2 separate regions of the Homo sapiens genome follow, and region 1 is linked to region 2. Evidence: promoter capture Hi-C in 16 types of primary human blood cells and fetal thymus (Javierre and others, 2016). All regions are on one chromosome and are shown on one strand. Each heading gives the region's core, a stretch centred on a gene start or on the middle of the fragment in contact. The rest is flanking DNA. Distances are from core to core; before and after follow the strand shown. Region 1 has its middle 26 kb from the start of G6PC1. Region 2 holds the start of TUBG1 (tubulin gamma 1).

Evidence for each region. The method cuts DNA at HindIII sites, captures the fragments that hold promoters and counts their contacts. A CHiCAGO score of 5 or more calls a contact.
Region 1: a contact is called between a fragment that was not itself captured here and the fragment with the promoter of TUBG1 in region 2, in 1 of 17 cell types (megakaryocytes). The highest score is 5.2, in megakaryocytes.

What each region holds. Positions count from the first base shown.
Region 1 is chr17:42,924,060-42,930,532 of GRCh38, forward strand. No RefSeq gene overlaps it. Among named protein-coding and RNA genes, the nearest start is that of G6PC1, 26 kb to the left of the region's middle. RefSeq lists enhancers at 4,390-4,966, 4,856-5,005. The HindIII fragment of the contact is 6,600 bases long and covers 1-4,550 here.
Region 2 is chr17:42,605,061-42,611,509 of GRCh38, forward strand. It overlaps TUBG1 (tubulin gamma 1), which reads left to right and starts at 4,623. Exons shown (of 11, transcript NM_001070.5): 1 at 4,623-4,726; 2 at 5,048-5,160; 3 at 5,363-5,530. The coding sequence starts at 4,678. It overlaps RETREG3 (reticulophagy regulator family member 3), which reads right to left and starts at 4,314. Exons shown (of 9, transcript NM_178126.4): 1 at 4,026-4,314. The coding sequence starts at 4,264. RefSeq lists an enhancer at 4,196-4,305. The HindIII fragment of the contact is 4,939 bases long and covers 3,570-6,449 here.

The DNA of each region.
Region 1 (6,473 bases), core at 1-2,500, 320 kb after region 2:
GGCCTTCTACTCTGTTTTGAAAAAAATCAATTTTAAAAATGCAATGGTTCGCAATCAGCCTGGGCAACATAGTAAAACCCATCTCTACTTAAAATACAAAAAAATTAGCCAGGCTTGGTGGTGCACGCCTGTAATCCCAGCTACTCGGGAGGCTGAGGCAGGAGAATCATTTGAACCAGGGAGGCAGAGGTTGTAGTGAGCCGAGATTGTCCCACTGAGTGTCCAGTCTGGACAACACAGCAAGACACTGTCTCAAAAAAAAAAAAAAAAAAAAGCGCTGCGCACGGTGGCTCACGCCTGTAATCCCAGCACTTTGGGAGGCCGAGGCGGGCAGATCACGAGGTCAGGAGATCGAGACCATCCTGGCTAACACGGTGAAACCCTGTCTCTACTAAAAATACAAAAAATTAGCTGGGCATGGTGGCGGGCGCCTGTAGTCCCAACTGCTCAGGAGGCTGAGGCAGGAGAATGGCATGAACCCGGGAGGCGGAGCTTGCCGTGAGCCCAGATTGCGCCACTGCACTCCAGCCTGGGCGACAGAGCGAGACTCCGTCTCAAAAAAAAAAAAAAAAAAAAAAAAAAAGCAATGAATTTCTGTATATTCTTCATGTAAATCACCAACTACAGTATTCACATGTTGCCACATTGCTCTATCAATCTCTCGCTATATATGTGTACATATTCTTCGTTTTTGATCATTCGTTTCAGCAAAATTTACAGTCACCATGGCCTTCACTTCTAAATAATTTCATGTGTCTCCCAAAAGCAAGGACATTTTCTTACATAGCTACAACAACATGTGTTCTTTTATAAATGAACCTCAGTTTCAAAAAAAAAAACAACACTCAGTTTAAGAAAAACAAAAAATTAAAAATAAACTGAGGCAAATTAATTATTTTCTGTTTCAATATCTTGCACTCTGGGTTCAAAGACCTCCTTGCTCGCTGAGGCTCACCTGCCCTGCCTGCCGCTCGTCCATACCCCCAAGCTGTGGCCCATCCCTGCAGGGGAACATTCCGGAAGACCCTTGACTCCTTGGCTCTGCTGAGCCTCAGCTTCCTGCTGGGGCTTTGAATGTCTTAGTGCCAATCTACTCGTTTCCTTCCTTCTCTGACAGCCAACAAGTTGATCATTCAATTAACAGAACACTTAGATTACTGTCAACTTAAAGTTAACATCTTTATTACTGTAATAAGAAATTTTTAACTCTAAAGGTTTCAAATTATTTGTTCATAAAATCCCTTATGATTACCACTTATGTAAGCAGGGTCCATCTTTTAATTTAATAATTTTTCAGCTGGAACAATTCGTTCATTTCACAAGTATTTATCAAGCATCTGCTATATTCCAGACATTTCTGGAATTAAAATAGCTAGTATAGGCCGAGCGCGGAGGCTCACGCCTGTAATCTCAGCACTTTGGGAGGCCGAGGCAGATGGATCACCTGAGGTCAGGAGTTCAAGATCCGTCTGGCCAACATGGTGAAACCCTGTCTCTACTAAGTACAAAAAATTAGCCAAATGTGGTGGTGCATGCCTGTAATCCCAGCTACTTGGGAGGCTGAGGCAGGAGAATCACTTGAACCTGGGAGGCAGAGATTGCAGTGAGCTGAGATTGCGCCACTGCACTCCAACCTGGGTAACAAGAGTGAAACTCCTTTTCAAACAAAAAAAAATTTTTTTTTTTTGTAAAGACAAGGGCTCTCTATGTTGCCCAGGCTGGTCTTGAACACCTAGACTCAAATGATCCTCCTGCCTCAGCCTCTCAAAGTGCTAGGATTACAGGTGTGAGCCACCACACCCAGTTTAGGTTCTTAATATTTTACCCCAAACCTGGTCATCTCTACAATTCTGTATCTCAGTGAATGGTAAGTCCATCCATCCACACGCTATCTTCCTCCTTCCCATCCATCCTCCATCCATCAAATCCTCTTACTTTTACCCCTTAAATATCTCTAAAATCTGCCATTTCTTGCCATTTCTACTGCTGCCTACCCCAGATAAAAGTCACCACCATCAATGGCAATGGCCTGCAATGGCCTTCTTTTTTTCTTTTTTTTTTTTTGAGACGGAGTTTCACCTTGTTGCCCAGGCTGATCTTGGCTCACTGCAACCTCCGCCTCCCAGGTTCAAGTCATTCTCCTGCCTCAGCCTCCCAAGTAGCTAGGATTACAGGCCCATGTCACCACGCCCAGCTAATTTTTATATGTTTAGTAGAGACGGGGTTTCACCATGTTGGCCAGGCTGGCCTAGAACTTCTGACCACAGGTGATCTACCTGCCTCGGCCTCCCAAAGTTCTGGGATTACAGGTGTGAACCAACGAGTCCAGCTGCAATGGGCTTCGTAAATGTTCCCTGCATTCACTCTCGCCCTTTTCATATCCATTCACCAGAAGACTGATGGAGTGATCTTTTTAAACCCAAAATCTGATATCACACTCTTGCTTGAAACTTTTTAATGGATTATCACTGTTCTTAGGATATAAATCTTTATTATGAAAAACTTGGCCAGGCGCCGTGGCTCATGCCTGTAATTCCAGCACTTTGGAAGGCCGAAGAGATAGGATTGCTTGAGTCCAGGAATATAAGACCAGCCTGAGCAACGTAGTGAGACCCCCGTCTTTATTTTTTGCTTTTTTGTGTGTTTTTTCATTTCTGCTTTTTTTTTTTTTTTTTAAGACGGAGTCTTGCTCTGTTGCCCAGGCTAGAATGCAGTGGCTTAATCTCAGCTCACTGAAACCTCCACCTCCCAGGTTCAAGCAATTCTTCTACCTCAGCCTCCCGAGTAGCTGGGATTACAAGCACACACCACCACATATGGCTAATTTTTATGTTTTTAGTAGAGACTGGGTTTCACCATGTTGGTCAGGCTGGTCTTGAACTCCTGACCTTAAGTAATACACCCGCCTCGGCCTCCCAAAGTACTGAGATTACAGGAGTGAGCCACCCTGTCTGGTCTCACTTCTTTTTGTATCTTTTTCCTTCATCTTTTATTTTCTACCCATCTCTCCATTTTTAAATTAATACATACATAAATTTTAAAAAGGAAAAAAACTTGTACATGAATATTCAGAGCAGGATTATTCATAATAGCTAAAAAGCAGAAACAACCTGAATGTCCATCAACTAATGATAAATAAACAAAATATAGCCTAGCCATAGAGTGCAATATTATTTGGCCATGGAAGGAATGAAGTATGAATACATGCTAGAGTGTGGATGAACCTTGAAAACATTATACTAAGTGAAAGAAGCAAGGCACAAAAGATCACATACCATATAATTCCATTTATAGAAATGTCCAGAATCGGCAAATCCATAGAGACAGAAAGTAGATTGGTGGTTGCCTAAGGCTAGATGTTTGGGGGAAATGGAGAGTGACTGCTGAAGGCTGCAGGGTTTTTTTTTTAGGGTGACGAAAATGTTCTCAAATTGACTGTGGTTATGTACAACTCTGTGAATATACTAAAAACCAATGAATTGTATTTTTTTCTTTTTTTAATTTCTTTCTTTTTTTTTTTTTTTTTTGAGAGAGTCTCACTCTATTACCCAGGCTGGAGCACGGTGGCATGGTCATAGCTCACTGCAGCCTCAACCTCCTGGGCTCAAGAGATCCTCCCAACTTAGCCTCCAGAGTAGTTGGGAATACAGGTAGATACCACAATGCCTGGGTAACTTTTTAATTTTTCATAGAGATGAAGTTGCACTGTGTTGCTCAGGCTGATCTCAAACTCCTGGCCTCAAGCAATCCTCCCACCTTGGCTTCCCAAAGTGCTGGGATTATAGGCATGAGCCACCATGCCCGGCTGAATTGTACATTATTTATTTATTTTATTTTATTTTTTTGAGACAGAGTTTTGCTCTCATCCCCCAGGCTGGAGTGCAATGGTGTGATCTCAGGTCACTGCAACTTCCGCCTCCCAGGTTCAATCAATTCTCCTGCCTCAGCCTCCCGAGTAGCTGGGATTACAGGCACCCACCACCACACCAGGCTAATTTTTATATTTTTAGTAGAGATGGCGTTTCACAATGTTGGCCAGGCTGGTCTCAAACTCCTGACTTCAAGTGATCCACCCACCTTGGCCTCCCAAAGTGCTGGGATTACAGGTGTGAGCCACCGCACCCCAGCCACAGCATTTCTTTTCTTTTCTTTTCTTTTTTTTTTCTTTTTGAGATGGAGTCTCTCTCTGTTGCCCCAGACTGGAGTGCAGTGGCGCAATCTCAGCTCACTGCAACCTCCACCTCCTGGATTCAAGTGATTCTCCTGCCTCAGCCTCCCAAGTAGCTGGGATTACAGGCATGTGCCACCATACCCAACTAATTGTATTTTTAGTAGAGACGGGGTTTCAGTATGTTGGCCAGGCTGGTCTTGAACTCCTGGCCTCAAGTGATCCACCTGTCTCTGCTTCCCAAAGTGCTGGGATTACAGGCATGAGCTACCTCAACTGGCTACCAAATTGTGCATTTTAAATGTGTGAATTTTGTGGTGTGTGAATTATATCTCAATAATGCTCTTACCAAAAAAAAAAAAATCTTTATATGGCCTCTGAAAGCTTACCTCAGCTGGACCTTGTCTACCGCACCTCACCTGGTCTCCTTCACCTCATTCCACAAAGCACAGCCAATGTCATCTTGGTTCCTCCAATGCAACACACTCCAGCCCTCCTCCGAGCTTGGGCTTTTACACACCCCCCTTCTTAGAACACTCTTCTGCCTCTTCACATAATTCAGTCCTCCACATTGGTATCACTTTCTCAAGGAAGCCTCCCTGCCCACCCACCATGAGTCATGATCAAGTTCCTCTTCTGGGCCTGCCAAAGCACCCCTTTTACTTTGCTCTCTACCAAACGTCACTTTGTGATTATTTGGATCATGTCCGTCTTCCCCACTAGACTAGGCCCCATGAGTGCAGCTCCATGCCTGCTTTGCTCACTCTTGCACTTAAACCCTGTGCCTAGCCCTGGCCTAACACATGAGGAGGACTCCAGATATCTTGGTTGAATAATAAATGAGCAATATATTACTGTTTGCCCCTAACTTGGAAAACAAATGATAGGTTCAACAATTCTAGAGCTCCACAAATGACTCAGCAAAAACATGTTCGGAGGCACTCCCAACGTGAAATTAGAAGGTTGGAAACTCAGAGGACGGGACAGGCTTAGATAGAAACATTGGCCTCTTCCCAGGTAAGTTCTCCCCAGGAGGTGGGGAGCAAACTCTCTGAGCAGCCAGTTACAGGGAACTCATGACTAAGCTCTGTTGCTGTTTATCAAGATACACACTGACTCTCAGAAGTTCTAGCGTGAACCAAATCCTGCTTCAACCCCATGGGCTTTCAGTGTAGGACTTTTTCTTTTTGTTGGTGATCACACACCCTACTGGTGGCTTAACCAATTACATTGCCTCAGCCCCTGTGACACTCCAGCTCCGCGTCCCCTTTATGATGCTTCAAATATCATAAAAGCAGAGAAAAATCATATGTCATATATCAGAAAATCATATATCAACTTTTTTTTATTTTGAGGTCTTTCACACACTGAACTTATTTTAATCATAATTGTCAATTATAAATAAACATAATTACTATGTTCCTTTTTTGATGTCAAATTGTTGCAATTTGGACAGTGGCTTCCTTATCCTTCTACCATTGCTGGCCTAAAATCCTTGTGTTCTAGGCCCATTCCAAATTTTCCTTGTTCCAAGACACAGAATCAGCCACCCACTAAGAAGTCTCATTTCCTTTTGATGGGTGCACGAGAGTGGGAGGTTAGCAGAAGAAATGCTGTTAATGGGCTAGGTGCAGTGGCCTAGCCTGTAATCCCAACACTTTGGAAGGCTGAGGCAGGAGGATCACCTGAGGTCAGGAGTTCGAGACCAGCCTGGCCAACATGGGGAAACCCCATATCTACTAAAAATACAAAAAATTAGCTGGGCGTGGTGGTGTGTGCCTGTAATCCCAGCTACTCAGGAGGCTGAGCCAGGAGAATTGCTTGAACCCAGGAGGCGGAGGTTGCAGTGAGCTGAGATCATGCCACTGCACTCCAGCCTGGGCAACAGAGAGAGACTTCATCTCAAAAAGGAAAAAAAAAAAAAGAAGAAGGAAAAGAAATGCTGTGGCCAGGGCATGGTGGCTCACGCCTGTAATCCCAGTACTTTGGGAGGCTGAGGCAGGTGGATCATGAGGTCAGGAGCTCAAGACCAGCTTGGCCATTATGGTGAAACCCCATCTCTACTAAAAATACAAAAATTAGGCAGATGCCTATAATCCCAGCTACTCAGGAGGCTGAGGGAGGAGAATCACTTGAACCTGGGAGGCAGAGGTTCAGTGAGCCAAGATTGAGCCACTACAGTCCAGCCTGGCAACAGAGCGAGACTCCATTTCAAAAAAAGAAAAAAGAAAAAGAAAAAGAAATGCTGTTAATGAACTGTATTTTAGGGTCAGAGCCAGGAAATTATATTTCTCTTAAAGCTTAT
Region 2 (6,449 bases), core at 3,373-5,872:
TGGCCACCATAAATTCTCTGGTACCTGAAAAAAAAAAAAGTATGAAAACCTTGGAATACTATGGTGACAAGGTATCTACATCTATCTCCATCTTTTTTTTTTTTTTTTAAGATGTAAGAGGGCATATTCACAGTTACGGCAAAATATGACTGAGGATACAAAACACTGAAAATTAAGAGCTACCTACCTGAATTCTGATGGGTTTTTTTTTGTACTCCTATCTCCTAATACCTCAAAATGCATAAAAATCTCAGTTAATGATATGTCATTTTTGTCCCATTATTCAATACAATAAAAGAGAAACTAAATATTTCAGATTTGATTTTTCTGACTTGAGCTAATGATCCTCCTCCCTTTCTTAAACATTTAAAATGTTTGTTAACTGAACAGTCAGTCACTCTTCCACATTTCTAAGCGAAATGTCAACACTCATACTCAATATGACACTACTAGAATGTGAAGCCCAAATTTCATTTTAAATCTCTAATTACCTACCAAGGAAGCTCATTTCCCCAAACAATTCTGTGAACTCCAATGCCAGACTATCCAAGTTTCTGGGGACTTAACAGTATCTGTGCCTTTCACATGTAGGAGTCCTCTCCAGAAATGGCATACCCAACTGTTCTTTTAGTCTCAAGAGTCACATTGTCGGCCAGGGACAGTGGCTCACACCTGTAATCCCAGCACTTTGGGAGACCGAGGTGGGTGGATCACCTGAGGTCAGGAGTTCAAGACCAGCCTGGCCAACATGGTGAAACTCTGCCCTACAAAAATACAAAAATTAGCCAGACGTGATGGTGGGTGCCTGTAATCCCAGCTACTCGGGAGGCTGGGGTGGGAGAATCGCTTGAACTTAGGAGGTGGAAGTTGCAGTGAGCCAAGATCACGCCATTGCACCCCAGCCTGGGTGACAGAGCGAGACTCCATCTCAAAAAAAAAAAAAAAAAAAAAAAGTCACATCCTCATTTTGTTGTCTCTCTCCTGCACCTTCTTAAAATGTGATGGGACTGTAACAAGAGTAACTGTGTTCTGGATACACAACAGACAAGCTACTAGGAAATGCCAAAGATAAAGACCAATCACAGCAATGCTTTAAGAGACCCAGAGTACAAAAGGGGTTCTAAGTGAGCCTCTAAACATAGCATGTTAATAAGCTTAAGTAAACACTGGTAGAGGCCAGCAAATTAAAGCTAGCTGTAACATCTAAAGATATGTCCCAGTCACAGCAGCTCTTTATGTGCAGACCTCAACCTCACATTCTGCTTCAGAAACCTCTCTCAGACAAGCGGCAGAAGAAAGGTCCCCTCCTCGCAGATCACGAGGTCAGGAGATTGAGACCATCCTGGCTAACACGGTGAAATCCCGTCTCTACTAAAAAAAAATACAAAAAATTAGCCGGGCGTGGTGGCGCGTGCCTGCAATCCTAGCTACTCGGGAGACTGAGTCAGGAGAATGGCGTGAACCCGGGAGGCAGAGCTTGCAGTGGGCCGAGATGGCGCCACTGCACTCCAGCCTGGGCGACAGAGCGAGACTCCATCTCAAAAAACAAAAATTAATTAAAAAAAAAAGGTCCCCTCCTCAAAAAGAACAGCATACATGCTACTAATTCATTTGCATTCATAAATCTTTGGTTTAAAAATCCATTTAAGGCCCGGTACAGTGCAGTGGCTCACACCTGTAATCCCAGCACATCGGGAGGCTGAGACAGGTGGATTGCTTTGAGGTCAGGAGTTTGAGACGAGCCTGGGCAACCTGGCAAAACTGTCTCTACAAAAAAATACAAAAATTAGCCAGGCATTGGTGGCGCATGCCTGTAATCCCAGCTGCTCGGGAGGCTGAGGCAGGAGAATCGCTTGAACCTGGGAGGAGGAGGTTGTAGTGAGCTGAGATCGTGCCATTGCACTCCAGCCTGGGCAACAAGAGCCAAACTGTCTCAAAACAAAAATAAGTAAACCCTGATAAAGTGTTTTTTTCCATCAGGCAGTCATACTTTGATACAAATTGGTTTAATGAGGCCCAGCCTTCTTGCTAGAGATACCAAAACCACTGTGGGAAATGTTTTGACTGGATAAAACACTCTTCAGTGAGGTGCTATAGTGAAGATTTCTACAGAGAGCAATGGGAATCAGTACCTAGGGGTCAAGGAAGAAGCACTTGGCTGGGCACGGTGGCTCATGCCTATAATCCCAGCACTCTGGGAGCCCAAGGCAGGAGGATCACCAGAGCCTAGGAGTTCGAGACCAGCCTGGGCAATATAGTGAGACCCTGTCTCCACAAAAAATTTAAAAAATTAGCCAAGCATGATGATGTGCACCTCTGGTCCCAGCTATTGTGGAGGCTGAGGTGGGAAGATTGCTTGAGCCCAGGAAGTGGAAGTTGCAATGAGCCGAGATCATACCACTGCACTCCAGCCTGGGTGATAGAGCAAGACCTTGTCTCAAAAAAAAAAAAAAAAAAAAAAAGGCCAGGCGCAGTGGCTCACGCCTGTAATCCCAGCACTTTGGGAGGCCGAGGCAGGCAGATCACCTGACCTCGGGAGTTCGAGACCAGCCTGACCAACATGGAGAAACCCCATCTCTACTAAAAAAATACAAAATTAGCCGGTTGTGGTGGTTCATGCCTGTAATCCCAGCTACTTGGGGGGCTGAGGCAGGAGAAATGCTTGAATCTGGGAGGCGGAGGTTGCAGTGAGCCGAGATCACGCCATTGCACTCCAGCCTGGGCAATAAGAGTGAAACTCTGTCTTAAAAAAAAAAAAAAGGGAAAAAGCACTACCAAAAATAAATGAAGAACGTGGTAGGAAAAGTTTACCATCGAGTTTGCTAAAGGCTCTGGAAGCCACAAATGCCAGAGACTACTGTGACACCTTTAACTGGGTCTCTTTCAAACTGGGAGAGGATTAGCTTAATAGCTGAACACTGTTTTCGGGTCAATGAACTTGGAATTATTTGTTCTGCTTCAGCTCACTGAAAATCTTTCAGATAAAGGATAATAAATGTTTTGATTTTAAAACAAATTTTAAGGGGAAAGCTATTTTTAGCAAAAACACAATTAAAAAACACACATATTTTGTTGTTTCAGGCTTATCCAGAATAGTCTTAATCCATTCAGCAGCAGAAAGCCCCCTATAAGTCAGTTCCCTTGGAACCTCCTCCATTACAAATAAATCCAAAATTATGGTTGGTAGATCCTATGAAGTCCTAGGTCCACTTCAGGTGATGACAACTGAGAGAAGCAGCAGTTCCATTTTCACAGAGCATGACACACACAAATAAAGCATATTTACAGTGCTACTTTTCCAGCTCAGGAAAACTCACACACAGTATTAGACATCAATTTCCTTGCCTATAAACCATGGCTAAGGATGCCTCTCTAATTCCTTGGAACAGGGAGGAGTTACAATCACAGGTGGCTTTGACACGCGTGTAATCTCCGTCATCATTTCCTAACTGTTCTTTAAAAGCTTGTAATTTTCTTTCAATTTTCAGCTTTGGGGGCTCACACTGACGCTTAGACTTCATAAACTTCCTTCCTAGATATATAACATGCTAATTCATGCGAATCGCTCAAGCTTGTTTTATAATCACACCTATGGATACCTTTGCAAGACTTCACGCCTCTACTCCAACAATAAACTACTAAAACCTCTGGAAACAATCTAGAACTTGCACTTGAGCAGACAAGAGAAAGGAAGTGATGGCTTTAAAGGGACGCAGCTTTGTCGGGCTCAAAAGAGGAGCCCTCGCTCACTCTTGAGCGGCTCAAGATGTTACCAGAAGCTCCCGCCAGATGTGCGGGGCGGGGGTGCGGGCACAGGTAAGGCAGAGAAGATGGGTGGACGGCCCTGGGAAGAACTAGGGTGCCGAAGCCTGCAGGCGGGATGGAGTGGAAGGAGGTGAGGCAAAATTAGGCAAGTACAGGAAGGAGCCAGTGCAGCGAAGAAAACAGGGCAGGCGAGAAGTAGAGCCCTAGAGGAACCAACGAATTCGGGACTCGGAGGGTTTCCGAGGGTCCAGTTCTCTCACCAGAAAGCCGCGTTCAGCCCCAGGCACCACAGAGCGCTCCTAGCTGGCCGCTCCCACACCAGGGCTGCCTGCACCCGACTCAGCAGAGGCTCGTAAGGCCCCAGCACCTCCACCAGGGCCCGCTGCGCCGCCTCAACCTGCTGGTCCCGCTCCCAGGAGCCTGACACATCTCGGCGGCCCCTGAAAGTCGACCCCGAAGCCGGGCCTGGGGTCGTGGGAACCCCTTCGGCCTCAGCCATCTCCCCGCGGCAGCCACAACATCCGGGGCCGTGGCCCGACAAGTCACAATAACAGCAACTGCGCAGATGCGCGATTCGGCGGGGGAGGTGGCTTCGCACCACAGCGCGCTTGCGCGCAGGCCCAAGCAGGCGCCCACCCAGAGGGGAGGGAGGACGCCGTACCCCGCCCTCACTGAGGCGCGGAGCCGGATCCGGAGGCGCCGAGCCGCATCCGGAGCCGCGCACGCGCAATCTGCATGAACGAAGGCCAGTGCTTAAAGACGTGCCATTCATTGCCAGAACTCGATTCTCATTGGAGCGGAGGAAGTTCGTGGGTGGAGCTGGTTGTTTGGCGCCTGCGTCTTGCGGCGAGCGGGCTGGCGTGCGGCGCCGTTGCGGGCGGGAGCGGCTGCAACGCCGGTGCCTGAGGAGCGATGCCGAGGGAAATCATCACCCTACAGTTGGGCCAGTGCGGCAATCAGAGTGAGCGAAACTCCGGCCCCTCAGCTAGCCAGGTTCCTTAGGGTCAATGGGATCTCGCTGTGGGATCCTGGACTCCATCTGTCCTTGCCAGAATCGTAGTTCTCTGAAAGGCGAGACATCCCTGACCCAGTGTCCACTTGCCCAACCCCGAGGGGCCCTCCCCTGCCCAGTCCCTGGCGTACAGTCCTTTCCTCAGACACGGGAGAGTCCTGCGGCTTGACTTCTTATCCCTGGACGCAGGCGCCCAGTCCCCCGGCTCCTGATTGGAACCTGCCCGGACCTAGATATCTTCTTTCTCCCCTGCCCGCCCCTTCCCCCCAGTTGGGTTCGAGTTCTGGAAACAGCTGTGCGCCGAGCATGGTATCAGCCCCGAGGGCATCGTGGAGGAGTTCGCCACCGAGGGCACTGACCGCAAGGACGTCTTTTTCTACCAGGTGCCCCCAGCGACTTGGCCGGGGGCGGCAGTTGCCCAAGGGGGCGGAAGGGAAGGGAGTGGCCTGGTACTGGGAACCCCGCTGGGCAGTAGGGCCAGGCGGCTGGCTTGAGGAGGGAGGGCCGGAGGGAGCCAGAGTTGGGAGGACTTCGGACTTGGGCCGCCCTAGCTGATTGGGCCCCCTCCTGGACTCCCCTTGACAGGCAGACGATGAGCACTACATCCCCCGGGCCGTGCTGCTGGACTTGGAACCCCGGGTGATCCACTCCATCCTCAACTCCCCCTATGCCAAGCTCTACAACCCAGAGAACATCTACCTGTCGGAACATGGAGGAGGAGCTGGCAACAACTGGGCCAGCGGATTCTCCCAGGTCGTTTCCTATTCCCTGGCAGGGCCCACAACTCGCTGGGTAGGGACAGGCTCTATGACGTCCCGAAGAGAGGGAAAACCGGATCAGGGATGTATGAATGCTGGAGGGAGAGACCTGGCTGCAGGGAGTGGACTATGTAATATTGTCAAGCGCCTACACTAGCTAATGCAGTGTGCCAGGTCATTCTAAGTGCTTTACATATATTAATTTTTCTAAATCTCCCAACAACCCTAGAAGTAAGTACTACAGGTCCACAGTCCCTTATCTGCCTTTCCAGGATCCAGAAAGCCATGAAACCAAAGGACATTTCATAACTAGTTTATCAGCAAAAACAAATTTCAATGAAGACAGGCTGTTTTATAGTTTCTTTTTTTTAATTTTTATTTATTTATTTTTTTTGAGACGGAGTCTCACTCTGTCGCCCAGGCTGGAGTGCAGTGGCACGCTCTCAGCTCACTGCAACCTCTGCTGCCCGGGTTCAAGCGATTCTCCTGCCTCAGCCTCCCGAGTAGCTGGGATTACAGGTGCTTGCCATCACGCCTGGCTAATTTTTGTATTTTTAGTAGAGACGGGGTTTTACTGTGTTAGCCAGGGTGGTCTTGATCTCCTGACCTCGTGATCCACCTGCCTCGGCCTCCCAAAGTGCTGGGATTGCAGGCGTGAACCGCCATGCCCGGCCCTATAGTTTCTATCCAACTTACTGTCATTAGTGATGCCTTTTATTACAGAAATACTAATATATTTGATTAACGTGCTTCTGATTAAATAAAAATTCCCACTGGAATTTTATTTAATATATAGTATATATACCATAATACCTTTCTAAAATCTGAAATATTTTGAATTCCAAAACATAACTGGCCCCAACACTGTTAGATAAGGGTATATGGACCTGTATTATTACCTTCATTGTACAGAT